4 separate regions of the Homo sapiens genome follow, and regions 1, 2 and 3 are each linked to region 4. Evidence: promoter capture Hi-C in 16 types of primary human blood cells and fetal thymus (Javierre and others, 2016). All regions are on one chromosome and are shown on one strand. The core of a region is centred on a gene start or on the middle of the fragment in contact, and the rest is flanking DNA. Distances in the headings are between cores, read along the strand shown.

What was found. The method cuts DNA at HindIII sites, captures the fragments that hold promoters and counts their contacts. A CHiCAGO score of 5 or more calls a contact.
Region 1: a fragment that was not itself captured here is called in contact with the fragment with the promoter of R3HDM1 in region 4 in 3 of 17 cell types (erythroblasts, activated CD4 T cells and non-activated CD4 T cells); the score reaches 7.4 in erythroblasts.
Region 2: a contact is called between a fragment that was not itself captured here and the fragment with the promoter of R3HDM1 in region 4, in 2 of 17 cell types (endothelial precursors and megakaryocytes). The highest score is 6.1, in endothelial precursors.
Region 3: a fragment that was not itself captured here is called in contact with the fragment with the promoter of R3HDM1 in region 4 in 15 of 17 cell types (megakaryocytes, naive CD4 T cells, fetal thymus and 12 more); the score reaches 17.9 in megakaryocytes.

What each region holds. Positions count from the first base shown.
Region 1 is chr2:134,958,348-134,964,485 of GRCh38, forward strand. CCNT2 (cyclin T2) reads left to right here. Exons shown (of 9, transcript NM_058241.3): 9 at 1-995. Among named protein-coding and RNA genes, the nearest start is that of CCNT2, 43 kb to the left of the region's middle. The HindIII fragment of the contact is 2,736 bases long and covers 946-3,681 here.
Region 2 is chr2:134,986,583-134,992,715 of GRCh38, forward strand. It overlaps MAP3K19 (mitogen-activated protein kinase kinase kinase 19), which reads right to left. Exons shown (of 13, transcript NM_025052.5): 9 at 4,955-4,998; 10 at 1-1,671. Among named protein-coding and RNA genes, the nearest start is that of MAP3K19, 58 kb to the right of the region's middle. The HindIII fragment of the contact is 3,833 bases long and covers 963-4,795 here.
Region 3 is chr2:135,005,816-135,012,011 of GRCh38, forward strand. All of the region lies in intron 5 of MAP3K19 (mitogen-activated protein kinase kinase kinase 19), which reads right to left. Among named protein-coding and RNA genes, the nearest start is that of MAP3K19, 39 kb to the right of the region's middle. The HindIII fragment of the contact is 7,045 bases long and covers 1-5,268 here.
Region 4 is chr2:135,527,960-135,534,195 of GRCh38, forward strand. It overlaps R3HDM1 (R3H domain containing 1), which reads left to right and starts at 3,525. Exons shown (of 27, transcript NM_001378107.1): 1 at 3,525-3,674. ZRANB3 (zinc finger RANBP2-type containing 3) reads right to left here and starts at 3,259. Exons shown (of 21, transcript NM_032143.4): 1 at 3,168-3,259. RefSeq lists enhancers at 2,572-2,651, 3,002-3,271, 3,240-3,534 and a silencer at 3,502-3,691. The HindIII fragment of the contact is 3,394 bases long and covers 3,413-6,236 here.

The DNA.
Region 1 (6,138 bases), core at 1,064-3,563, 570 kb before region 4:
CTAACCTGATTACTGCCTCAGAGGCTGTCTTGAAGGGAGACAGTAGGATTCACTGACTACCTTTACCCAGATGAGGGATCAACAAATCTCACACTTAAACTAAATGAGTTGACAGGACAATAGGTGCTAATCTCATGTGCCCTAAGATGGACTTATTTAGATAGGGATTTTTGCATTGGAAAAGCAGCACATTCTCTGACCTTGGGTACCAAGCTATGATACTAATTTGAGAATCACATTCTGATACGTTAATATCAGAAATCAGTGAGCAACCTAATTGCTGTAAGCTGACATACATGGAAGCCGAAATCAAAAGGTTGCTTTTGTTAGTTTCCCTGGAGCATCTATTTTTGTAATACATTTTGCCAGTGGGACTGAAAAGCTCAAAATGTTTTAGACCTAATATCATACATTAATTTTCTGCTCTGCAGTGTCAATTTGGGCACAGCCAGTTTTTACCTCTGTGGCACCTTCTTTATAATTTACTGTTACCTATTCTGCCTGACAGATTGATTAAGTAGGTTGATAAGATCCATCGAAGATTGAATGGCTAGGAGTAATTCTGTTCTCGTATAGGCAACTTAACTTCACTGTGGAATCCATTTATCTCAAAGTTTGAGGGCTGTCTACTTTATTTTCAAGTTTGGGGCGGAAACTCAAAATCCCGAGCATTGCCACTTTAGTAGTTTGTTTGATTTGCCTATTGTTTAATAATGAGTACATTCTTATTAAGTGATGAGTACATTCTTAATTTTAAGGTATGTTTTTTTCAAGCAGCTTCATTTTATTAGGAAAAATACATACTCATTTGTTGTAAACAGTGATTGTGGGGTTTCATTTTCTGAATGTACTCAAAACTCCCAACAACAATTGAACAGGATGTTTGCTAATAGAAAATCTAAAACAGGAATATGTGTATATGGCATGAATTAGTCATTGACTTTAAGCTTCTTATCCATACAAGGAACTAATAAAATGTTTATTGACAACATAAATCCAAGGCTCTAACATGTCTTAAGTTAATGTGAATCAGAAGTAACTTTGAGGTGGGGCGCAGTGGCTCATGCCTGTAATCCCAGCACTTTGGGAGGCCAAGGCAGGCGGATAACCTGAGGTCAGGAGTTCAACACAACCCTGGTCAACATGGTGAAACCCTGTCTCTACTAAAAATACAAAAATTAGCCGGGTGTGGTGGTGCATGCCTGTAATCCCAGCTACTCGGGAGGCTGAGGCAAGAGAATCGCTTGAACCCAGGAGGCAGAGGTTGCAGAGAGCCCGAGATCGCACCACTGCACTCCAGCCTGGGCGACAGAGCAAGATTCCTTAACAACAACAAAAACAGAAGTAACTTTCAGTCCCTGGAAAATGTGAGATCTCTAGTATAATTGACCCTTTATCCAAGTAATTTCATGTATCATTCAGGAGTGCAGGCTCTGGGATCAAATGGTCCATGCTCTAGTCTCAGCCCTACCATTTAATAACAGAATGGCATTGGGTGAATTACTTGATCTCATGCTTTTTCTTCCCTACAAAGTGTTAGTAGTAGTACCTGTTCATCATAGAGTTGTGTAAGGCTTGGATGGTCAAGGAAGGCTAGATAGAATAGCATTAAAGAGAATCCTAATTGAGGGGTAGATGTGGGATATTGGAATGATGAAGGCCAATCCAGGTGTGTAACTGGAACATATTAAATACTGCATGCCCGCTGTGTCCAGAATTCTCTTAAGTTGTTCATTCTAATTTCTGTTTTAAGATTTTCTTGTCTAACCTCTTGCATCACTCCCATAAAAAGCACAAAGAATAGTTGCAGTACCCATTTAAAATTTTTTATTTTTTGAGACAAGTTCTCACTGTCAGCCAAGCTAGAGTACAGTACAGTGGTGTGATTTTTGGCTTACTATAGCCTCCGCCTCCCAGGCTCAAGCGATCATCCAACCTCAGCCTCCTGAGTAGCTGGGACTACAGGCATGTGCCACCATGCCCGGCTAATTTTGGGGGGTTTTTTTGTGGTTTTTTTGTTTGTTTTGTTTTGTTTTGTTTTGTTGTTGTTCTTGTGTTTGGTAGAACGGGGTTTTGATACGTTGCCCAGGGTGGTTTCAAACTCCTAGGCTCAAGCAATCCGCCCACCTTGGCCTGCAAAAGTGCTAGGATTACAGGTGTGAGCCACCATGCCCGGCCCCTTCAAAAATATTTAAGCATAAGCTGTTCTTTAATAAGGCTGCTCGCCAGCTTCCCTCTCCTTACCAGCAATTTCCCTGCACCTTCCACTTGAAAGAAAATGAAAGCTAATTGCAATAACTTTGATAAAGTAGAATTAGGATAGAAAAGTCGCTTCTTTTAAAATAGATTTTCAGGCCGGGTACGGTGGCTTATGCCTGTAATCCCAGCACTTTGGGAGTTTGAGGCCAAGGTGGGCGGGTCACCTGAGGTGAGGAGTTCGAGAACAGCCTGACCAACATGGCGAAACCCTGTCTCTACTAAAAAATACAAAAAAATTAGCTGGGCGTTGTGGTGCGCGCCTGTAGTCCCAGCTACTCAGGAGGCTGAGGCAGGAGAGAATCGCTTGAGCCTGGGAGGCAGAGGTTGCAGTGAGCCGAGATAGCGCCACTGCACTCCAGCCTAGGCGACAGAGCAAGACTCCATCTCAAAAAAAAAAAAATTTTTTTTTAATTAAAAATAAAACATTTTCAGCCTAAATGTAACATAAATATTTTTTGTATCACAGTTAAGAGATTTGTCTCACTGGTGCTGACACCAGTAAGGGCTTGTTCTATTAACATAATAAATTGGATGGGTTTTAACTTTACAAAGTGAGTAATTCCATCTAACCAAACTCATCTAAGTCCATTGTTTATTCCTTCACCCCTGCCCCCTGCACTTTTCAATATAATAAATTGTATGTTTTTATTTTAGCTGTAGCATATGGCCTGCCTATTCCTTCCCCTCAATACCACCTCCCAAAACAATGTAGGGCCTCACTGACAAAATATTTTTATTATATTGCCATGAAATTAAGAGGCTTACTTAGACCTTTCAAATGTTCAGACACAGTTGAGGAGGCCAGTTTTCTATAGTCTTTCACGTCAGCCTGTTAGTGACTGCTTTATGGATGAATTCAGCCATGGATTTTCATAATGTCGTGATGTCCTGTCAATAGGAGAAAGCACTATCCTCTATAAACTTGACAGTGTAATGGCATATACAAACTTTTTTTTAAACTTTATTACCAGTAGAGAGAGAGGCTGCTTACACCAGAGATTTTTTAATTGGCAGAATCACCTGGAAAGATTTTTAAAATGCAAGTTTCTGCATTTAAATAGCTGCTTTAAACTGAATTAATACTTGTAAGTGCAGCTCGTATGAAGAAGAAAGACGGCCTGGTAGGTGATGGTATGCAGCTTTTGGCTGCTCCTTGAGCAGATTAAGTGGGTTATTATCTTGGAGCTACTCATTACACAGTGTACGACTAAAGTAGGTTAAAGTTAAGGAGATGCTGTAGATCTACTTTTTAGAACTTGGGGGTTAAAATGTCTTTGGTTGAGCTTGGGCCCAGAGCATACAGGAATTTAGTACATAATAAGATGAGTTTTCAATGTGATTGAAAACTCAGCGGTTGTGCCTTGGGAAAAGGGTGATGCTCATGGAAGGGAGGACGGTATTACTGCTAGGTGAACAATGAAAAGCTTTTCACACCATTAAAGTACTCAAAATAATAAAGGGAGGACGATACTACCATCCCAATCAGCAGCTAGAATGAAATGATGTGCCTTTTTCTGCTAAAAGCTCAGTGAATGCTAGCCATCCCAGCCCCAACCTACCTCCACTCCCAACCTCCTTTCAGACCCTCTTCAAAAGGAAGAGAGCACACATATGGGCAGTGATAATGAAGAGTGTAATTCCAAACAATTGTTCATGTCTTAAACACAGTGAATAACAAAAACACAGAAGCTTTGAGGACCAAGGCTTGCCTATTGAAAACTTCAGCTTTTTTTTTTTTTTTTTTTTTGAGATGGAGTTTCGCTTTTGTTGCCCAGGCTGGAGTGCAGTAGTGTGATCTCGGCTCACTGCAACCTCTTCCTTCCAGGTTCAAGCGATTCTCCTGCCTCAGCCTCCCAAGTAATTGGGATTACAGGCACACGCCACCATGCCCAGCTAATTTTTTGTATTTTTAGTAGAGATGGGGTTTCAGCATGTTGGCCAGGCTGGTCTCCCAACTCCTGACCTCAAGTGATCCACCTGCCTCGGCCTCCCAAAGTGCTGGGATTACAGGGGTGAGCCACCCTGCCTGGCCAAAACTTCAGCTTTTTGAAGTTTCTGTTCAATATTCCAAAATTGTCTTCAGTACCCTTATATTTCAGTAGAATAGGAATAAACTTGTTAACACCAACTTCTTGTGTCCATTACGGTGATCTCTATACACAGTATTAACAGGTCTTACTCTTTGCCCTTTCCCCATAGGGTTTAACAGGCTTGATTGTAAATAGTTGCTTTAAAATCCAATATAATATTCAGATTTGAAAGAATGCTGAAGATCCCTCCAAAATGGAAAAGGAATAAGCCCTAACCTTTCAAAATTATGTTGTTTCTGGTCATGTTGAGATACAAGTAAGTAAAATAAAGGACATATTCTTCCCTTAATTTCTTAAATATGAAAAAAAAATTTGAGAAAAGTTATACCCACAAAGACTCATCTAATGTTACATGTCCAGAGTAAAATCTGTTTTTACCTCACCTGGACAGCATTTCACATTTATTTCATAAAAACTAAACCAGCTTTGTTTTGACAAATCCTGATACCAGTATTAGAATACTCCTAAAGTTAATTTTTAGTTGTACCAGCTTGAAATGACGGCAGCCAATAAAAATATCTGTGGCTATAGCTTAGAGCAATAGGTGCTGGCTGGGCGCGATGGCTCACGCCTGTAATCCCAACACTTTGGGAGGCCAAGGCGGGTGGATCATGAGGTCAGGAGTTCAAGACCAGCCTGGCCAAGATGGTGAAACCCCATCTCTACTAAAACTACACAAATTAGCCAGGCACAGTGGCAGGTCCCAGTAATCTCAGCTACTTGGCAGGCTGAGACAGGAAAATTGCTTGAACCCAGGTGGCAGAGGTTGCGGTGAGCCAAGATCACGCCACTGCACTCCAGCCTGGGCAACAGAGTGAGACTCCATCTCAAATAATAATAATAAAAAAAAAGAACAATAGGTGCGAAGTTTAGTGGATGAGTGAGATCAACAGCAATGGAAACCTTATAAAAAATGCTTAATCCTGGCTGGGCACGATGGCTCACGCCTGTAATCCCAGCACTTTGGGAGGCCAAGGCAGGTGGATCACTTGAGGTCTGGAGTTCAAGACAGCCTGGCCAACACAGTGAAACTCCATCTCGGCCAACATGGTGAAACCCCATTTCCACAAAAAATACAAAAATTAGCTGGGCGTGGTGGTGGGCAACTGTAATCCCAGCTACTTGGGAGGCTGAGGCAAAAGAATCACTTGAACCCAGCAGGCGGAGGTTGTTGCAGTGAGCCAAGATAACGCAACTGCACTCCAGCCTGGGCAGTAGAGTAAGACTCAGTCTAAAAAAAATATTGCTTAATCCACCAACTTAAAATGGCTTGTAATACTACTAACTCATCCATGCTCACTTTTGTGAGGTCTACTAATGTTCTGGGAATGGCAGTATTTGAAGGATGACCTCAGCAGAGGTAACTATTCAAATGAAATGAGCAAAGGTCTGTGGAAAAATCATCCTTCCCTTACCAGACCTAGCTTTTGTCCTACCAGCTGATTTAGACTTAGCTAGTTCTGCATATGGAAATGACCTGATTCACTGCAAATAGATTAAAAACTTCAAATCACTACAAATAAATTACAGAGAAAAGAGCCCAAGGTTTATGATGCCGCCTTAACTAGCACAATTTCTCAGAGACATCTGAGGAGTTTGGGGGCCCTCTGATAATGAAATGCCGAGGCCCTCACCTCCTCCCTATTAGGCCTTGAGCCTCCTAGAATCTTTTAGGCTAAGATTGCTGCCAAAGTACAGAATCTAGAATCTCTTTAACTTACCTTCCTGCCTTCCTCTGCTCTGCTTTGGACGAATTAAGTAAGCATCTTTACTCACCAAGCAAGAAAAT
Region 2 (6,133 bases), core at 1,629-4,128, 540 kb before region 4:
TGAAATACCATCACCATTTTCAATGTCATGTAGGTTGCTATGTACAGCCTTGGAACTCTTTTCTTTAGAAATTAAGACTTTGTGCTCTTGTTTAATGCCAAATGAAGTCTTTGGGCATTTCATATGTGTTTTTTTCTGAGAAAGTCTTGTTCTGATATTGCTCTTCCTCTCACTGTGTGAAGATCGACATTTATTGGTGATACGTCTGCCTGATGGAGCCGAACATATCTCACGGTAATACGTGTTTTCATCCCTTTCAGTCTCTCGCACATGACAATAAACAGGGGTCCCAAACATTTCATAGATTCCAGGTCCATTAGCAGTTGAATTGATTTCTTTGAACATATCACTATACTTAAGATCTAGGTAATTTAGTCTTGGCTCTGTCGGTTGAACAGAGAGAGGAACACATGACTTCTGTGTTCCTGGATTTTTACAGATGCAAGGAAATGATTGCTTTTTAGGTTTCTGAGTCCGGTGAGTTGATTGCTTCTTTGCTATCTGTGGCATTTTCTTTTGAAACCTGGGCAATTGCCAAGGCCTGGGGTCCACAAGTCCCAAAGCCGGGAAAATTTGTGTTTTTATGCTGGTTTTATGCATGGTAGGCTTAATGGGACCTTCAGTAGAAATCACAAAATTCTGAGGTGTCTTCTTACTTGTCTTGGTCTTTGAATCCAACTTACTCCTATGGGAATTCATCTTATGCTTGTCATTTTCTTGGTGTACAGGTATGTTGACACTATGGTTGTTATGAATGGTTCCCTTTCTTGTTTGGAGGCTTGGTTTGGCTATCACTGGTTCCTTGGGGCTTCCATCCACAGGGAAGGTGATGTGGATAAGAGGCACCATCCTACTCATTTCTGGTTTGGCTCTTTCTGCTATTGATATTTTTATGTTTGTCTCCATGCTGCTACAACCTTCTGGGAGTTTATCAATGGGGTCATCAAAGACTACACTGGATAAGCTTTTAAGTACAGTACACTCTTCTAAAATATTGTTTGGTTCCATTGCTTCATTTTTATGTAATGAAACTCTTTTTGAAGCAGCTTTATTATTTCTCATCTCTTCATCCTGGCTTGGAGTTATTTCTGAATGCTGGGTTTCTTGGAACTTGCTTGGAATGGTACATACTATTTCTGGATCTTGTTCATAGTTTTTGGCTACTGAACTCTCATTCTTTCTTGATGAAAGATATTGAGAGTTCTCTTCTTCAGGTTTTCGCGTTTTACTACCATGGCAGTCAATATCCTCTTCCCTAACTGCAGGAATATTGCCTTCCTTCAAATTCTCAAAAGACACCAAAGACTGCCCTTTTTCAAAGTGAGTGATTTCAATTTTGTTACATTCTTCTATTTCCTTGGATTTCCAGTTTTCCTCCTTCTCCAGGCATTGCCTGTGATGGTTAGTCTTAGGAAAAGAGCACATGTTTCTTGACCAAATGAAGCCATCAGAAGACCTGAGAGTCGGATCCATCAACGACTTAACTAGGGCTCCCGGAGGCTCGTTTGATGGGCTGAGCTCATCAGATTGACGAACAGACACTGAGAGCTTAGGCACAAAAGATGTGAGACTTGGAATGTTTCTTTCTTTTTCTTTTGGAAACTTGTGATTTTGGGGGATAGTAAGGACACCAGATCGCGTGGGCAAGAGTGACAGTGGTGGCAGAAGGAACTAAAAGGAAGACAGAAAAAGCTGTGAATGCAGAAACATATATAAATATCACGCTAACTCGTTTAAAGTAGTCTAAAGAGATTATAATATCCTCTTAAGGAAGGCTTTTAAAGTTCAAAGCTATCCTGGAAATCACAATTCTTTTTTTTCTTCTTGAGACAAGATCTCGCTCTGTCACCCAGGCTGGGGTGCAGTGGCATAATCACAGCTCATTGCAGCCTTGACTTCCTGGGCTCAAGCGATCCTCCCACCTCAGCCTCCCAAGTAGCTGGGACTGCAGGCATGTGCCACTATGCTCGGCTAATGTTTAAATTTTAGTAGAGACAAGGTCTCTCTATGTTGCCCAGGCTGGTCTCAAACTCCTGGCCTCAAGCAATCCTCCCACTTCTGCCTCCCAAAATGCTGGAATTACAGGCATGAGCCACTATGCCTGGAAAGATCACAATTTTTAAAATTAAAACCTCATTCCCAATATTTTTTTTAGAACCAATTTAAAACAACACGTTTTAAAACCAGGATTATTATAGATGTAAATATTCATGGTTATATATTTTTAAATGAAGGCCCTATAATGTAAATGGTAAAAATTTAAGATAAGAAGCATTTTATTTCTCTTCTTTTTTCTTTTTACTTTCCATAGAATTGATTTAAGATTTTTGAAATCCCACTGAAAACAGTTTAAAATTGCTGTTAAAATACCTCAAAAATTACCAGTTATTGACTAACTCAGAATTCATATCCGAAACACAACTACTCACCATCGTTTTGCTGAATTAGTTTGTGAATGAAATGTACAAAATTTCATTTTTGTGGATGACAGGCAAATGGATGGCTTTCCTTTCTCCTTTGCCCTCTAGTTTCAAACTAAGCTAGTTTTTCCTTTCTCCTTTGCCCTCCTCTAGTTTCAAACTAAGCTAGTTTTTATTATCATCCTGTAGAGGTCAGTGTAACCCAATGTATAATATTAAACTTTGCGGGCAGTAAGCTATAAACTCCTTAACTTTATGCTTCTTTTCATTGTGGTCTTTTCCTGTGTATACAGATTCAATACCTATTTATATCACAATATTTATAGGCATGGGTCATGGGTAGTAATTGAGAAATGTATGTTTAATTTTCATTCTATTGCCACCTGTGTGTAAGAAGGAAGGAAATGGAACCTGACTCTAGAAACTTAGGCATTAAAAGTAGATGAGATGTAGTGTAGACCCCAGTTTTACTGTCTAGATGATTTTCCTCATTTCTCAAAAATGACTTAGGACATAAAGGCAGATTCATCCAGTGCTTAACCATCTGCCTAGTAACAGCCATTACAATTTTTTAGGTCAATAAACTCCTTTTACAATGCTAAGCAGTACCTATGCATAAGTATTTCTCAAAGGCTCATAGGAAAAGAAGGGTCAGGTAGTTGAGAAACTAAGAATTGCAAATATCTTTCCAAAAACTTATAAATTAGACAGCTAGGAAAATCTTTCCACCACTGGGGGAAAGAAAAGAATTGCCTAATTTCTAAATAGGTTGAAAAAAGACAAATTAAAATATGTCTGGCCAGGTGTGGTGGCTCACACCTGTAATCCCAGCACTTTGGGAGGCCGAGGCAATCGGATCACTCAAGGTCAGGAGTTCAAGACCCACCTGACCAACATGGTGAAACCCCATCTCTACTAAAAATACAAAAATTAGCTGGGTGTGGTGGCAGGTGCCTGTAATCCCAGCTACTCAGGAGGCTGAGGCAGGAGAAACGCTTGAACCCAGGAGGTGGTGGTTGCAGTGAGCCGAGATTGTGCCAACTGCACTCCAGCCTGGGCAACAGAGTGAGACTCTGTCTCAAAAAAAAAAAAATGTCTAAGGGAGCTACTCAGCTCATTATGTAAAGAACAGAAACACTCCAGAAAAGCACTGCACATGGCAAGGCATAATTTTCCCAGGAACGATTTGCTACTCTAGGAACTATATGTGAGTTGTTGTTTTTCCAAGAAATACAGTTGACCCTTGAACAACAGGGCTTCAAACTACGCAAGTCCACCTATATGTGGATTTTCTTCCTCCTCTGCTACCTCTGTGACAGCACGACCAAGCCCTCCTGTTCCTCCTCGTCCTCAGCCTATTCAACATGAAGACAGTGAGGATGAAGACCTTTATGGTGATCCACTTCCACTTAATGAAGAGTAAATATATTTTCTCTTCCTTATGATTTTCTTTTTTTGTTTTTTTTTTTTGTTTGTTTGTTTGTTTTATTTTTGAGACGGAGTCTTGCTCTGTTGCCAGGCTGGAGTCCGGTGGCATGATGTCGGGTCACTGCAACCTCCACCTTCCAGGTTCAAGCAATTCTCCTGCCTCAGCCTCCCGAGTAGCTGGGACTACAGGCACCCGCCACCATGCCCAGCTAATGTTTTGTATTTTAGTAGAGACGGAGTTTCACCATGTTGGCCAGGATGGTTTCGATCTCTTATCCTCGTGAACCACCCGCCTTGGCCTCCCAAAGTGCTGGGATTAAGGCGTGAGCCACCACACCTGGCCCCTTATGATTTTCTTAATAACATTTTATTTTCTTGGCTTTATTGTAAGAATACAGCATATAATACATATAACACAAAATGTGTGTGTTAATCAACTGTTTATGTTATCTATAAGGCTCTGGTCAACAGTAGGCTACTGCAGCCATGTGCGGTGGCTAACATCTGTAACCCTAGCACTTTGGGAGGCTAAGGGGGAGTATTGCTTGAGGCCAGGAGTTCAAGACCAACGTGGCCAACATAGCGAGACCCTGTCTCTAAACAAAACAAAACAGAACACCCAGCACTTTGGGAGGCCGAGGCGGGCGGATCACGAGGTCAGGAGATCGAGACCATCCTGGCTAACATGGAGAAACCCCGTCTCTACTAAAAATACAAAAAATTAGCCGGGCGTGGTGGCGGGTGCGTGTAGTCCCAGCTACTCGGGAGGCTGAGGCAGGAGAATGGCGTGAACCCGGGAGGCGGAGCTTGCAGTGAGCCGAGATTGCACCACTGCACTCTAGCCTGGGTGACAGAGTGAGACTCTGTCTCAAAAAACAAAACAAAACAAAACAAAACAAAACAAAACAACCGGTAGGCTATTAGTAGCTAAGTTTTGGGGGAATCAAAGCTTATGTGTGGATTTTTGACTGTGTTGGGGACATCAGTGACCCTACCCCCTGCATTGTTGAAGGGTCAAGTGTAATTGCTGAGGATTTGGTTCTAAATTAGTGAATAGAGTTGTTTGGTTTTAATTCTCAAGTCAAAAATGCTAGCACTAATCTTACCTTGATGCTTCGGCCACTGTACTTCATATGAGAGGTCGAAAACTCTACAACAAGAAAAACAATAACTGGATATTCTTAGTAGTAGAAAGAAAACAGTCTCAAGCCAGAGTCTGGGGATGGAGTAATACAGATGCTAAGGGGTCTGAGGAAAAGTTGTAGAAATTGGAGGTTTCCCCTGTGGAATTCACACAGAGGTGGAATCATCACACAAAACTTCAGGCTGCTGCCACTAGCAGGGGTTGCTGTTTTATATTTATATCTCTATTCTGACAGAAAACCTGAGATCTCTGGACCAGAGAGCAGACCATTTATCACTCACAGAACATTGTAATGCCAGTTCCCCACAACCCAGTTCCTCACAGGGCAACGTGATGAGAGCCGGGTGTTGACCTGCACAGCTGGCAGAGCTGCATCACAGGAGGGAGCTCTGGAATGATGAGACTCAGGTGGTATATTGGGTGGTGGCACTTTAGCCCATCTTTCCCTCCAGAGAAGGAGAGAGCACTTTACTATGAATTGTAAGCAAATGCCTCCAGGAGAAAGATGACTCTATGTTTTATTACCCTAGAATATAAGCAAACAGCTTTTGGGAAAATCAGCCTCTAAATTTCTCTGGAGCAATACACTAACTTCGGAGGCGTTTCTGACATTCAGTCATCTTTTAACTTAGTTTCCTAGTGTTTTTTGCTTAGAAAGCCTGAACTGTGCAGAAATGTGAAAATATTCTTGTATAAGTGTCTCCCAACAGTTGTTTAAACTAGATCGACCATAAACTCTGAAAGGTGAGTGTGAGGAAGACTCACCTAGGGAACGAGATGGGACTTACTAGGTAGTATAAAACTTACAAGTTGTTCTCTTCTTACCAAAAAGTCAGAATGATCCCCAAAACCCCATGAACCACCACCACCACCACTTCTGCATAGTTTGGACTTTCTAAAGCTGAAGCCAAAAGCTCCAGTGTCTCCAGGGTCAAAACAGTTCACAGAAATGGATGATGTGGGACAGGAAGACACAGCAGTAAATCGAGATCATATGCCCAACTAAAGGGGCATCATTACCCAGCTCGCAGTGATGTTATCCAACCCAGATAGATAGTCCAGCCCTGCTACATCTTCCAAAAGAAGCCAGAGAGCTGCAGATTTTTTTTTTTTGAGACAGGGTCTCGCTCTGTCGCCCAGG
Region 3 (6,196 bases), core at 496-2,995, 520 kb before region 4:
GGCTGCTAAGCTGCCCCAAATTCCATCTGGGTAGGTAACTGGAAAGAATCCTTTGGCCACAGTCACAGTGAACAACCCCAAAGGAGCATGATCTTTTCCATAATGCCTCCCTGGGGCATCATTTACATATGGCAAGAATGGAAATCCCTGCCCCTGTGGAAGCTACAGATATAACCCTAGACTGAAAGGAGGCAGCAAAGCTGATTAAAGTCTTCCCTATGACGGCGTTCTGATCTAAATCATGGTGCATAACCTCTTAAACTTCCTTTTCACTCTCTAGAAAATAATCATTATAGTTGAAAACCAACTTGATTTACAAAAAGTACTCCAAACATTTTAAAGAAGAAATGTTTTCTTAGTAGAATTCATTGTTTTTGATAGTTTCCTTCATTCGAAGTTATAGCTGATGATTTTGTGCCTTTAAATTTCTAGAACCATGATAGATCCAAGTAATAGTTAAAACATCCCATCACAACCCGAATGTTACAACTATCTGTCTGGTTTCTATGATCTAGGTGGACTACCTATTTAAGGGGACTGATGGACAATAAGTCTTTGCCCTAAGTGCTCAAGCCTGTCATCTGAAATGTCAGAGAAGTGGCGAGTCACAAAAATTCTCTGATAGCTCATTTATTAATTCCCAAGAGAGCTAGGAAATTTCTTGCTTTTCTCTCCTTGTTCATTTTAATTGTCGTAGCAAATAATAAAAGTTGGCCAGGCATGGTGGTTCACTCCTGTAATCCCAGCACTTTGGGAGGCTGAGGCGGGTGGATCACTTGAGCTCAGGAGTTCGAGACCAGCCTGGGCAACATGGCAAAACCCTGTCTCTACTGAAAATACAAAAATTAGCTGGACGTGATGGCACACCCCTGTTGTCCCAGCTACTTGGCAGGCTGAGGCAGGAGGATGGCTTGAACCCGGGAGGTCAAGGCTATGGTGAGCTAGGGTCACGCCACTGCACTCCAGCCTGGGTGACAGAGTGAGACCCTGTCAAAAGAAAGAAAAGAAAAGAGAGAGAGAAAGAGAGAGAGAGAAAAAAGAAAAGAAGAAGAAAAGAAAAAGGAAATAAAAGTAAAACCTGGCCAGGCATGGTGAGTCACACCTATAATCCTAGCACTTTGGGAGGCCGAGATGGGTGGATTGCTTGAGGCCAGCCTGGACAACATGGTGAAGCCCCATCTCTACAAAAAATACAAAAATTAGCCAGGCATGGTGGCACGTGCCTGTAGTCCCAACTACTCAGGAGGCTGAGGTGCGAGGATCATTTGAGCCATAGGAGGTTGAGGCTGCAGTGAGCCATGATTGCACCACTGCACTCCAGCCTGGGCAACTGAGTGAGACCCTGTCTCAAAAAAAAAAACCAGAAGTAAAACCCTCCATTTATACAGTCATTAAAAATATTTTAGGTATTCAATCATAATAACTTAGTTGTCATACCTTACTTTTATTCAGCAGTTTATACTTAAACATTGTTTTTTAATTTTTATGGGTACATAGGTATATATATTTATGGGATACAGGAGATATTTTGATATAGGCATGCAATGCATAATAATGACATCAGGGTAAATGGAGTATTCATCACATCAAGCATTTATCCTTTGTGTTACAAATGATTCAATTATACTTTTAGTTATTTTTAAACGTACAATTAAATTATTACTATAGTCACCCTGTTGTGCTATCAGTACTAGTTCTTACTCTTTCTTTTCCTTTTTTTTTCTTTTTGTTCTCTCATTGGGTTGATTATTCATTCTTTCTAGCTATTTTTTTTTGTACCCATTAACCATCCCCCTTCCTCCCTACTCCCCACTACCCTTATTAATACTTTCTAAAGCGTTTTCTATCTCCTGGCAAAAGTTGGGTGCCCTACCTCAGACTATCCTGGTTGTCAATGGCGGATGGGTTCACTCAGCTCCTAGGCTGTTGTCAATTTCACTGCTTAACCTTCTCTGTATTTCAAAAATTCTACCATTATCTGGCAAATTCCTCCTCCTTCCTATCAAATCACAAAGGGGGATTTATTCTTCCTAGAACATACAAAAATACAAAAAAGTATTTTTTAAAGCAAAATTTAAAAAATCACCTATAACCTGACAACCAAAGAGCAAACACTGTTAACACAGGAATCATATTTTCTTTGTGTTTCTCTTAAGTATTTAAAAATATAGTTGCATCACATAATTTTTGTATCTGGCTTTTTCACTTAAGTGTAAATTCATAAGCAATTTACTAAGTAAGTGTCATTTTAATTTTAATGGAATTTAAAATTTCTTTCCTTCAACAAATATCAGAGGGTCATAACAGTACTTCTTTTTTTTTTTTGAGATGGAGTCTTGCTCTGTCGCCCAGGCTGGAGTGCAGTGGTGCGACCTCAGCTCACTGCAACCTCCACCTCCCGGGTTCAAGAGATTCTCCTGTCTCAACCTCTCGAGTAGCTGAGACTACAGGCACCCGCCACCATGCCCGCCTTATTTTTGTATTTTTAGTAGAGACGAGGTTTCACCATGCTGGCCAGGCTGGTCTCAAACTTCTGACCTCGTGATCTGCCTGCCTCGGCCTCCCAAAGTGCTGGGATTACAGGCGTGAGCCACCACGCTCAGCCAATAGTACTTCTTTAATAAGCCCCGTTAGTCTTACAATGTAACTCCCATGATGCTTAGTAGGTAATTTAAAATTCTTCACTCTTACACATAGTATTATTAAATATTTGCAACTAATACCCCAATTTTGCATTATTTCTTTAGAGTAGATCCCTAGATATGGAATTATTGACCCAAATACTATGAAAAAGTTGTTTTTTTGTACACACATTGCCTTAAAAGTAAAGTTTATCCCTATTTATAATCCACCAGCAGTGCATGAATGTGCTATATCATATCTTCTCCCTTATCATCATTCCTTTTCATTTAATTAATTAATTAATTATTATTGTTTTCCCTTCTTTTCACAGGTGTTTATATGATTATTGTTATTATTTTGAGGCAGTGTCTCACTCTGGCACACAGGCTGGAATGCAGTGGCACTATCATGGCTCACTGCAGCCTTGAACTCCTGGGCTCAGGTGATCCTCCCACCTCAGCCTCCTGAGTAGCTGGAACTATAAGTATGTACCACCATGCCCTGCCCCTTTTCATTTTATTTTTTATTTTTTGAGACAGAGTCTTGCTCTGTTGCCCAGGCTGGAGTGCTGTGGTGCAATCTCGGCTCACTGCAAACTCCACCTTCCAGGTTCAAGCGATTCTCCTGCCTTAGCCTCCCAAGTAGCTGGGGTTACAGGTGCCCACCACCATGCCTGGCTAATTTTTTTTTTTTTTTTTTGTATTTTTAGTAGAGATGGCGTTTCAATATGTTTACCAGGCTGGTCTCGATCTCCTGATCTCAAGTAATCCACCTCCCTCTGCCTCCCAAAGAGCTGGGATTACAGGCACCTGCCACCACGTCTGGCCGACTTTTCATTTTATTATATTTAATGTAATAGATGGAATTGGTCTTCTTATTATTGTTTGAATGTTCATACTTTGATTAATAGAAAAGTTGGAGATAGTTTTAGATGCTTATGGGTCATTTGAATTTTTCTTTTTTAGTATTATATATAGTTTTTGTGTAGATCCTTAGTCTAGAACACTCTAAGAGACCTCAAAACACATTTCTACCATTTCATTTAATTACAGTGATTCAGTGAAATTTTTATGCTGAGCTTTGAGAAAACAGCAGCCTTCATTTGGAAGTGTTAGTCATACAGCAGGTTCTCACATCAAGTTTCCATGTTGATTACTGGGCTGTGGTCAATCTCAGCTACTCAGTTCATTTGTCAGTTGGTCCTGTAGGAAAAGTTGGAAGCCGGCAGTGTGGTCATACCCACCTACAAAATCCATAATGATGACTAGCATTTACATATATAGTACCAGACACTGTTCTATATGCGTTACACATATTAACCCATTTATCTCGGAGGTTGCAAATTTTTTTGTGTGAAAAATCAGACCTTGGCAATGACCTTGAGCAGTGGGATATAAATAACCCCCACAAGCTCACCGTTCCAATAATGGAACACTAAGCATAAATGGGTTAACTAATTTAATCCTCACAACTCTAAAGTTAGGATCTATTATCTTCATTTTGTACCTGAGGCCCAGAAAAGTTAAGTAGCTTACACGAGGTCACACAGCTAGCCAGTGGCAGAGCCAGAATTTACACCCAGACTGTGAAATCTGGGTCCAGAGGTTGTGACCACTCAGTGATCTTGTTAGCATGAAAAGTTTGAAACAATGAATTTCAACAAGAACCAGAAAAAAAAAAAGAATTAATGAGCAAAATAAAGGGAAAGGATACTCAAACCTAATTGATAAGTTTTGCATAGAAAAAATAATAATAAAAGATGTGTGATCCCTATAAGTACCTGACAAAAATTTAAACCCTGGAACAAACTGAAAAACCATAAGTATCACAATCAAAAAGGATGTAGGGAGTAAGATCTACTTTGAAGGTGATGACGGAAGTGAAGACTCAAACAGAAACAGCTCAGAATTTTCTAACTTATTTTATAAATCTAACCAGCAATGACTTTAAGATGTGCTTGGGTGCCACAAGGAGGAGAATTGAAATAGTGTCATCTAGGAGTGAGTAAAAGAGAGAAAACATCAGAATAGCAAGTCCCAAACATAGATGGATTTCATAAACCATTGACAACACCACGGGAGCTGATAGATGGATAAGAAATAGAGCATCGCATTCTAGCCTGCAGACAACAGCATACCAAACATACAGAATGTAAAGGCACGATGGAAATCAGACGTGATTAAAGTTTTTTTATTTTTATATTTTAGAGACATGGGAGCTCACTCTGTCGCCGAGGCTGGAATGCAGCAGCACAATTATAGTTCACTGCAGCCTCAAACTCCTGTGTTCAAGTGGTTCTCCCACCTCAGCCTCCAGGAAGTAACTGGAACTACAGAGGCACGCCCCCATAACCAGCTAATTTTTTAATTTTTTTGTAGAGACAAAGTCTTATTATGTTGCCCAGGGGTGTCTCGAATGCCTGGACTCAAGGGATCTTCCCACTTCAGCCTCCCCAAGTGCCGAGATCACAGACATGAGCCACCATATCCAGCCTATGATAAAATTTTGAAAGAAGATTCTCCTCAGGTGAAAAAAGATGACTGGGCGAGTCTATAACGAGCCTCTCTGGAGCTGTCCTACATGCAAGGCAGCTGCTTATATTTGTAAACTATAAAAACCTATTTCAGACAACCAAAAAGAAAACAAAGCTTTCATTTAAAGAAAAGAGTGAAAGGGATTTAAACCCCAGTTAAACCACTAGGGAAGGAAAGGCAAATATAATACTGAAAAAGTCCATTTCTCCCTCAAAAAGGAGTTTAAACTTTATTTCGGCTACAATAAGAAAAAACACCTAATGAAAGGTTTTTAAAAAAAGTTTTGCCAGGCGCGGTGGCTCACGCCTGTTATCCCAGCACTTTTGGAGGCCAAGGCGGGTGGATCACGAGGTCAGGAGATCGAGACCATCCTGGCTAACACGGAGAAACCCCGTCTCTACTAAAAATACAAAAAATTAGCCAGGCGTAGTGGCGGGCCCCTGCAGTCCCAGCTACTCGGGAAGCTGAGGCAGGAGAATGGCGTGAACCCGGGAGGCGGAGCTTGCAGTGAGCCGAGATCGCGCCACTGTACTCCAGCCTGGGCGACAGAGCGAGACTCTGTCTCAAAAAAAAAAAAAAAAAAGTCTTAAAGTTGCCTCAAAAAATGTACTGATCAGGCACGGTGGCTCACACCTGTAATTCCTGCACTTTAGGAGACAGAAGTGGGAGAATCTCTTGAGACTAAGAGTTTGATGTTGTTTGTTTGTTTGTTTGTTTGTTTGTTTTTTAGAAACAGACTCTCCCTCTGTCATCCTGGCTGGAGTGCAGTGGTGTGATCATAGCTCACTGTAACTTTGAACTCCTGGGCTTGAATGATCCTGTTGCCTCAGCCTCCCAAGTAGTTGGTTCTACAGGTGCATGCCACCACACCTGGCTGAGGCCAGGAGTTTGAGACCAGCCTGGGCAACATAGTGAGACCCCATCTCTACAAAAATGTTTTTAAACATTTATTTCAATGTATTAATATGAAGTGATATAGTTAGTCCTTTTAAAAAGAAAATTGCTTAAATAGACCATAAAAATAAAAAGTATGTTTTTGT
Region 4 (6,236 bases), core at 2,275-4,774:
TGGCTCCAGAATCCTGGGATGGAATTTTGTTTCCCTCATCATTATGTGTCTGGCACACGTTGAAGGATTAATAAAAATTTGAAAGGCAAGATGAATAGTGGTTAAGAGTTCAGGAATTAGACAGGCCTGGATATGAATCTCAACTCAAATTTATTTAATAGGGGCCTCAGACCTTAAAGCTCTTTTTTTTTTTTTTGTGGTTTGTTTGAGACAGAGTCTCCTGTGTTGCCCCAGGCTGGAGTGCAGTGGCTCAATCACAGCTCATTGCAGCTTTGACCTCCTGGGCCCCAGCGATTCCCTCACCTCAGCCTCCTGTGTAGCTGGACCACAGTTGTGCACCACTACGCCCAGCTAATTTTTTTATTTTTTGTAGAGACTGAAATTTCCTATGTTGCCCAGGCTGGTCTAGAACTGCTAGACTCAAGTGATTCTCTTGCCTTGACATCTTAAAGTGCTGGGATTACAGGTATGAGCCACCAGGTCAGACCTCTACAAGTCTTATTTACCTTCATTGAGCCTCACTTTCTTCAAATATAAAAATGTCAAGAAGACTTACAGTTTGTCATAAGGAAAATGTACTTATCACACATAACATCATTTCTGGCTCAGACGAAACTCAATAAAATGATGGCCATCATTACTATTTAGTGACTAGATTTACACTGGAAGAACTCCTGACACAAACAAATAAAAAAAAAAACTAAGCATCTACAGTAGACTGCATTGCTAAATTATCACTGAATATCCTAATTGCATTAAAAAGCAAGAGACAACACTTTGCCTGGTAGATCTACAAAAATGTCTTGCTGCAAGGTATGGTTACATTCCTATATCTAGCAGGATTACACTATAAAATTTACCATCTTACTTTGTATACAAACATCACTCGTTAGTATTGGACACAGATTAGTGCTTTAGTAAAAACAATGCAAAGAGGAAAACGTGCTTATTTTAATCCAAAGGTAGAATGTAAAGAAGGGACCAAATAAACATACAAAATGTGACTAAAGAAGACTTGACTTAGAGATTGAAACAGTAAGTGACATTACAATTTTGTTTAGCCTCTCTCTTCCTCACAACTTTTGGACAAGGAGCCTGTCTTTTTAGGCACTGCTCTACCCAAAGTCTGGTATAGTACCCAATACAGTGTTAAGCGCTCATACCATAAATACAACAGGATTTATAAGAGAAAATCTCAGTAAAATCATGGAGTAAACTGAATTAGAATTTATCTGAGAAAGTCTCAGTCAAAATAATAAAGCAAAGAGTTTAAGAATAAAGGGCACACGCATAGGGAGGGAAAAACCCTTTTCTGTAACTTGTATCTTCTTTATTCAATCAGTTTTCCTGGGTACCTTAAATGGAATGTCCAAAAGTATACATACAGTCGCCCTTGAACTCTGAAGGAGGCATAAATCAGGGCCTTACGTGCTAAGATTATTAGGCTGTGGGCTCCATGTGGCCGATGAATAAAGGCATCTTTTTAGTGATGCCTTTATTCATCGGTGTATTATAGTTGGCACCCTGTAGTCACACGTTTTTTGTTTTTGTTTTTGTTTTGAGACGGAGTCTCGCTCTGTCACCCGAGGCTGGAGTGCAGTGGCGCGATCTCGGGTCACTGTAACCACTTCCGAAGTTGAAGCGATTCTCCTGCCTCAGCCTCCCGTGTAGCTGGGACTACAGATCCTACAGATCTCTGCCACCACGTCCGGCTAATGTGTGTGTGTGAGTTTTTAGCAGACACAAGATTTCACCATGTTGCCCAGGCTGGTCTCGAACTCCTGACCTCAAGTAATCCTCCCGCCTCGGCCTCCCAAAGTGCTAGGATTACAGGTCTGAGCCACCGCGCCTGTCTGCCACTCGTTTAATAAATGGTCGTTACTCAAAGAGTGGTGATGGGGCCACTCTTGATTATCAATCCTTCAAACAGAAAAGCCCTTTTCTGTGACTCTTTTCCTTCCAAGCTGACTTTAGAAGTGTGTTTGTGGCCGGGCGCGGTGGCTCACGCCTGTAATCCCAGCACTTTGGGAGGCCAAGGTGGGCGGATCACGAGGTCAGGAGATCGAGACCATCCTGGCCAACATGGTGAAACCCCGTCTCTACTAAAAATACAAAAAATTAGCTGGGCTGAGTGGCGCGCGCCTGTAATCCCAGCTACTCCGGAGGCTGAGACAGGAGAATGGCGTGAATCAGTGAGCCAAGATCCCACCACTGCACTCCAGCCTGGGGACAGAGCAAGACTCCGTCTCAAAAAAAAAAAAAAAAAGTGTGTCTGTAAATGTAGTTCAGAACTTCGGAGCCCTGTCTTTACAGTTCAAACTGACCACGCGAAGACTAAAGGCAGTAGAGGTACTTTCTACAAATTTAGCCGTGCAATCTAATAGCGAGCAGGCCGAGACGCCCGCGATTGAAGGCCGGGGTGGAGAAAGTAATAAGGGCCCTGGAAATTACCCCCATCCCATGTCACCCACTCTTTCTTAAAATGCCATTAAATTCCGTTCAACTTTTTATCTCCCATGCAAGAAACTAGCGACTTGCCAGCCACGCCACTTCCAGCCAGTCACACCTGGCGTATTCGCCGCAGAATCTCCAACTCCCGCCACAGGTTTGGGACGTGTCCGCCCCTAAGCGGAAGTGACGTTCAACGGGACAACGTGAAAGTAGATGAGTTTAAATACGTACTAATAATTTAAAACCCCTATGGTATTTTGAGGAAACTCTTCCGGCTACCCTTCTTCCATCACTTCTCTCCCGTTAGGGTTGCGAAAAGGGCTCTGTACAGCCTCGCGACAACTCGTTCTCCGCCCTAATTTCAAGTCATTCAAAACTCTGTCCCTTTTCATTGGCTGAAGCGGCGGCATGGGTACCTCTCAGGAACTACAATTCCAGCCAAGCACCGCGACAAGTGAACGGAGGAGAAGTTATGAGTAGGGGAAAAGCATGTTGGGAATCGTAGTCCGCTCCAGGCCGAAAAGAGCAATCACCCCGCCCTCCGCCACTGAAGCTGGAGAAACCAGGTGTTCGTTTCAGAACCCGTTAGCGCTAAGGGGAGGAGCCAACCCCTTAAGCAGCATGCCTCACTTCGCCCCACATGGAGGATAATTTTCCTTTACCCCTAAAAAGCACTATAAATACCCACTGAGGAGATCTGGTTGTCTTTTAAATACCTCGAGTCAGTAAAAACTCACGAAACTCCGCACCTCAGGCTCCAACTCGTGGGAAAAGGTAGCTCTTTTACAAGTGGGCAAAATGGCTGTCCTCCTAGTTTTACCATTGGTTGGCTTTTGCGTCCTTCAAGGGCGGTTACTTACCACGGATTGGTTCTTTTTCTCTTGAGGTTGGAGGAAGATTTGGCACGGCTCTCCGCGGCCTGGGAGGAGGTAAAGGGGTGGAGAGAAGACAGTTTTTTTCAAGCTTGATTGGGCAAAACTCATGTCACTCCGGGGACGTACAACCTATGAATAGTCGGCTGCCGCTCAAAGAGAACGAAGAGGCGGGGCTAGTGCGTGGTGGGAAGGGGCGGGATTCTGCCAGCCGCGGCTGCCGCTGGAGCCGGTGTCCGGGCTGGTGATGGGGTTAATTCCCTTTCGTAAGACTCTTACTTGCACCCACCCAGCCCCGCCGTCGCCCCGCCGCGCCGCGCTCCAACCGCCTCCTCCTCCTCAGTAACGCGGGTAAGAGATGCCCTTCCCTCCCCCGTCCAGCTCCCCGGGAATAACGCGCCTTGCTCCCCTCCCCCGCCCGCCAACCGGTAGCGCTAACGGAGAAGGAGGCAGGCAGGGGAGAGATGTGGTGTGTGGAAAGGTGGCCTTCCCCGCCGGGTCGTCGGCGCTTCAGCCAGGGCCTTCTGACGTCCCGCTGCTGCCAGCCCGCCGTTAGGTCGGGTTCCGAGTGAGCCAGGCTCGCCTGGCCCGCGGCTGCGGCTCCGGCTGCAGCTGCAGCCACTGCCTTGTGCCCACCGCCCCCACCCGGGGGCCATGTGAAAAGCAAACCCCTCGAGGCCTAGCGGAGGAGGCAGGGGAAAGGTTTCCGAGTCCCTGCCATGGCTGCTGCTGCTGCCTCCGCGGCTGCTCTTGCAGCCCCAGGGACTCGGGAGCCAGCCACAGCAGGCCTGCCAAGAGCGTGGTACTGCTCTCTCGTGTGGCTGGCGCCGGTGCCCCGGGCTCCCCCGGCCGCCCCACGGCCGCATCCCCTGGCCTTGCACCAAGAGAATTTTCAGCTTCGACCGGTTGGTAAAATGTAGGTACATTTTCCCTGTGGTACCAGAAAAAGCACAATGGGAATATTAAAAAGAAAGTTGAATGACTGTCAGTGCCACGGTCCCCCGGGATCAGATTTACACACGTTTTGATTCCTGAGCCTTAGGCTGCCAACAAATCTTTGTGGGCTTTGAAGTTTTTTGGTGTTTTGTTTTCTTTTGTTGCTGTGACTAGGTGCAAAGGGTGACTCTGTTGAGCTTGTTTTTATAAAGAAACTTAAATTATTGGGACTATCATGCTCCGTGTGTAATTGTCCTGGGATAGTTAAGTAAAAGGTGAAGAAGAGGTGCTTTCCAAATTAGGATTAGTGAACAGCAAATGGTTTTTCTAATAAAATTTTCTAAATATATATATATATATCTTCATGGTTATAGTTTACCTAATTGTAACTGTAAGAAACCTTTTTTAGCTTAAATATCATTGATGACAAAAACTTTTAAATGAAAAGATGATTAAAGTCAAACTGAAAGTCTACCCATTTATAATATGTGAAACAAGATCTTCTAAGTAATAGGATACCAGTCTGACAGGAATAATTGGACACGTCTCAATTTCTAAAAATTTGGCATATTTGGCTATTTTTAGGGCATTCTGTTATGATTTCTTCATCACATTTTGATGGAGTACGCTCGTCTTTTCAAATACCACTCTGCTTTTATGCCTGGAAGAATATGTCTTTAAATCATGGATTCTATAGTCTGTAGTAGACATAACTGTGATCAGAGATAAAATTCTAGGCCCATTTCTGAGGTTTACTTGTTAGCAGAATAAACTTGGGTTCTGAGGAAACATCTGAGTTTTGATCATTTCTTCAGGGTTTGAGAAGACTATGGTGGCTTAATGATCTTCTGTATTCCATAACTAGTACACCTAGTTACAGAATTGACATAGATACATTCAGGTCCTGGAGGAAATTTGTGGTATCTATTAAAAAAATGAAAATTGCCAGTCATGTAGTAGTCACCTGTAGTCCCTGCTACTCAGGAGTGTGAGGTGAGAGGATCACTTGAGCCCAGGAGTTCAAGGCCAGCCTAGGCAATATAGCAGAACATGGTCTCAAAAAAATAAAGAAATAAATACACAGCCTTGGAAGGCAAGTCCCCTGAGATCCCCACAGAGTTCCTGTAACATATATTGCCAGCTGCCAGCATAGTATTTTCCAGAACTTAAGAGTTAATTGATAAATTATACAATCGATACTTTCAGATCTTGGGTGATTTATATAGAGAAAGAGCTGTTGAAAATTTAGGAGTCTTCTACATTTTCTTCCTGGCTGTTGGATCCCTCCATGAACCTCAGTTCGGTTTCCTCATCTGTAAAATGAGGATGATAATGCTTAACTTAGGGAGTTATGAAAATTAGAGATAAATATATAATAGTGGCCGGGCGCGTTGGCGCACCTGTAATCCCAGCACTTTGGGAGGCTGGGCGGGCGGATCACCTGAGGTCGGGAGTTGGAGACCAGCCTGACCAACATGGAGAAACCCCGTCTCTACTGAAAATACAAAAAATTAGTCGCTCATGGTGGCGGGCACCTGTAATCTCAGCTACTCGGGAGGCTGAGACAGGAGAATCGCTTGAACCTGGGAGGCAGCGGTGAGCCGAGATCAGGCCATTGAACTCCAGTCTGGGCAACAAGAGCGAAACTCCATCTTAAAAAGAAAGAAAACAGAAAATTAGAGGTAAAGTATGTAAATCCCCTAGCATTGTGCCTGACACAGTTTGTGCAATAAATATTAACTGTTATTTTCATGCATATTTAGAGAATGGGTTTGTTGTTCATATGCTGAGGGTGTTGTTGCAGCCTTAGAACACATTCTGTTACTGAAGAGTACCATGGGTGTATTAATTTATATAGTGACTTAAGCACAGTTTGCGACTAGTTATTTTTGATTAGCTTATGGAAGTTTTTTTGACTTTGAATTAAAATGCAAGTGTCTGTGGAATACATTTCAAATGGATTATTGGGAATAAAAA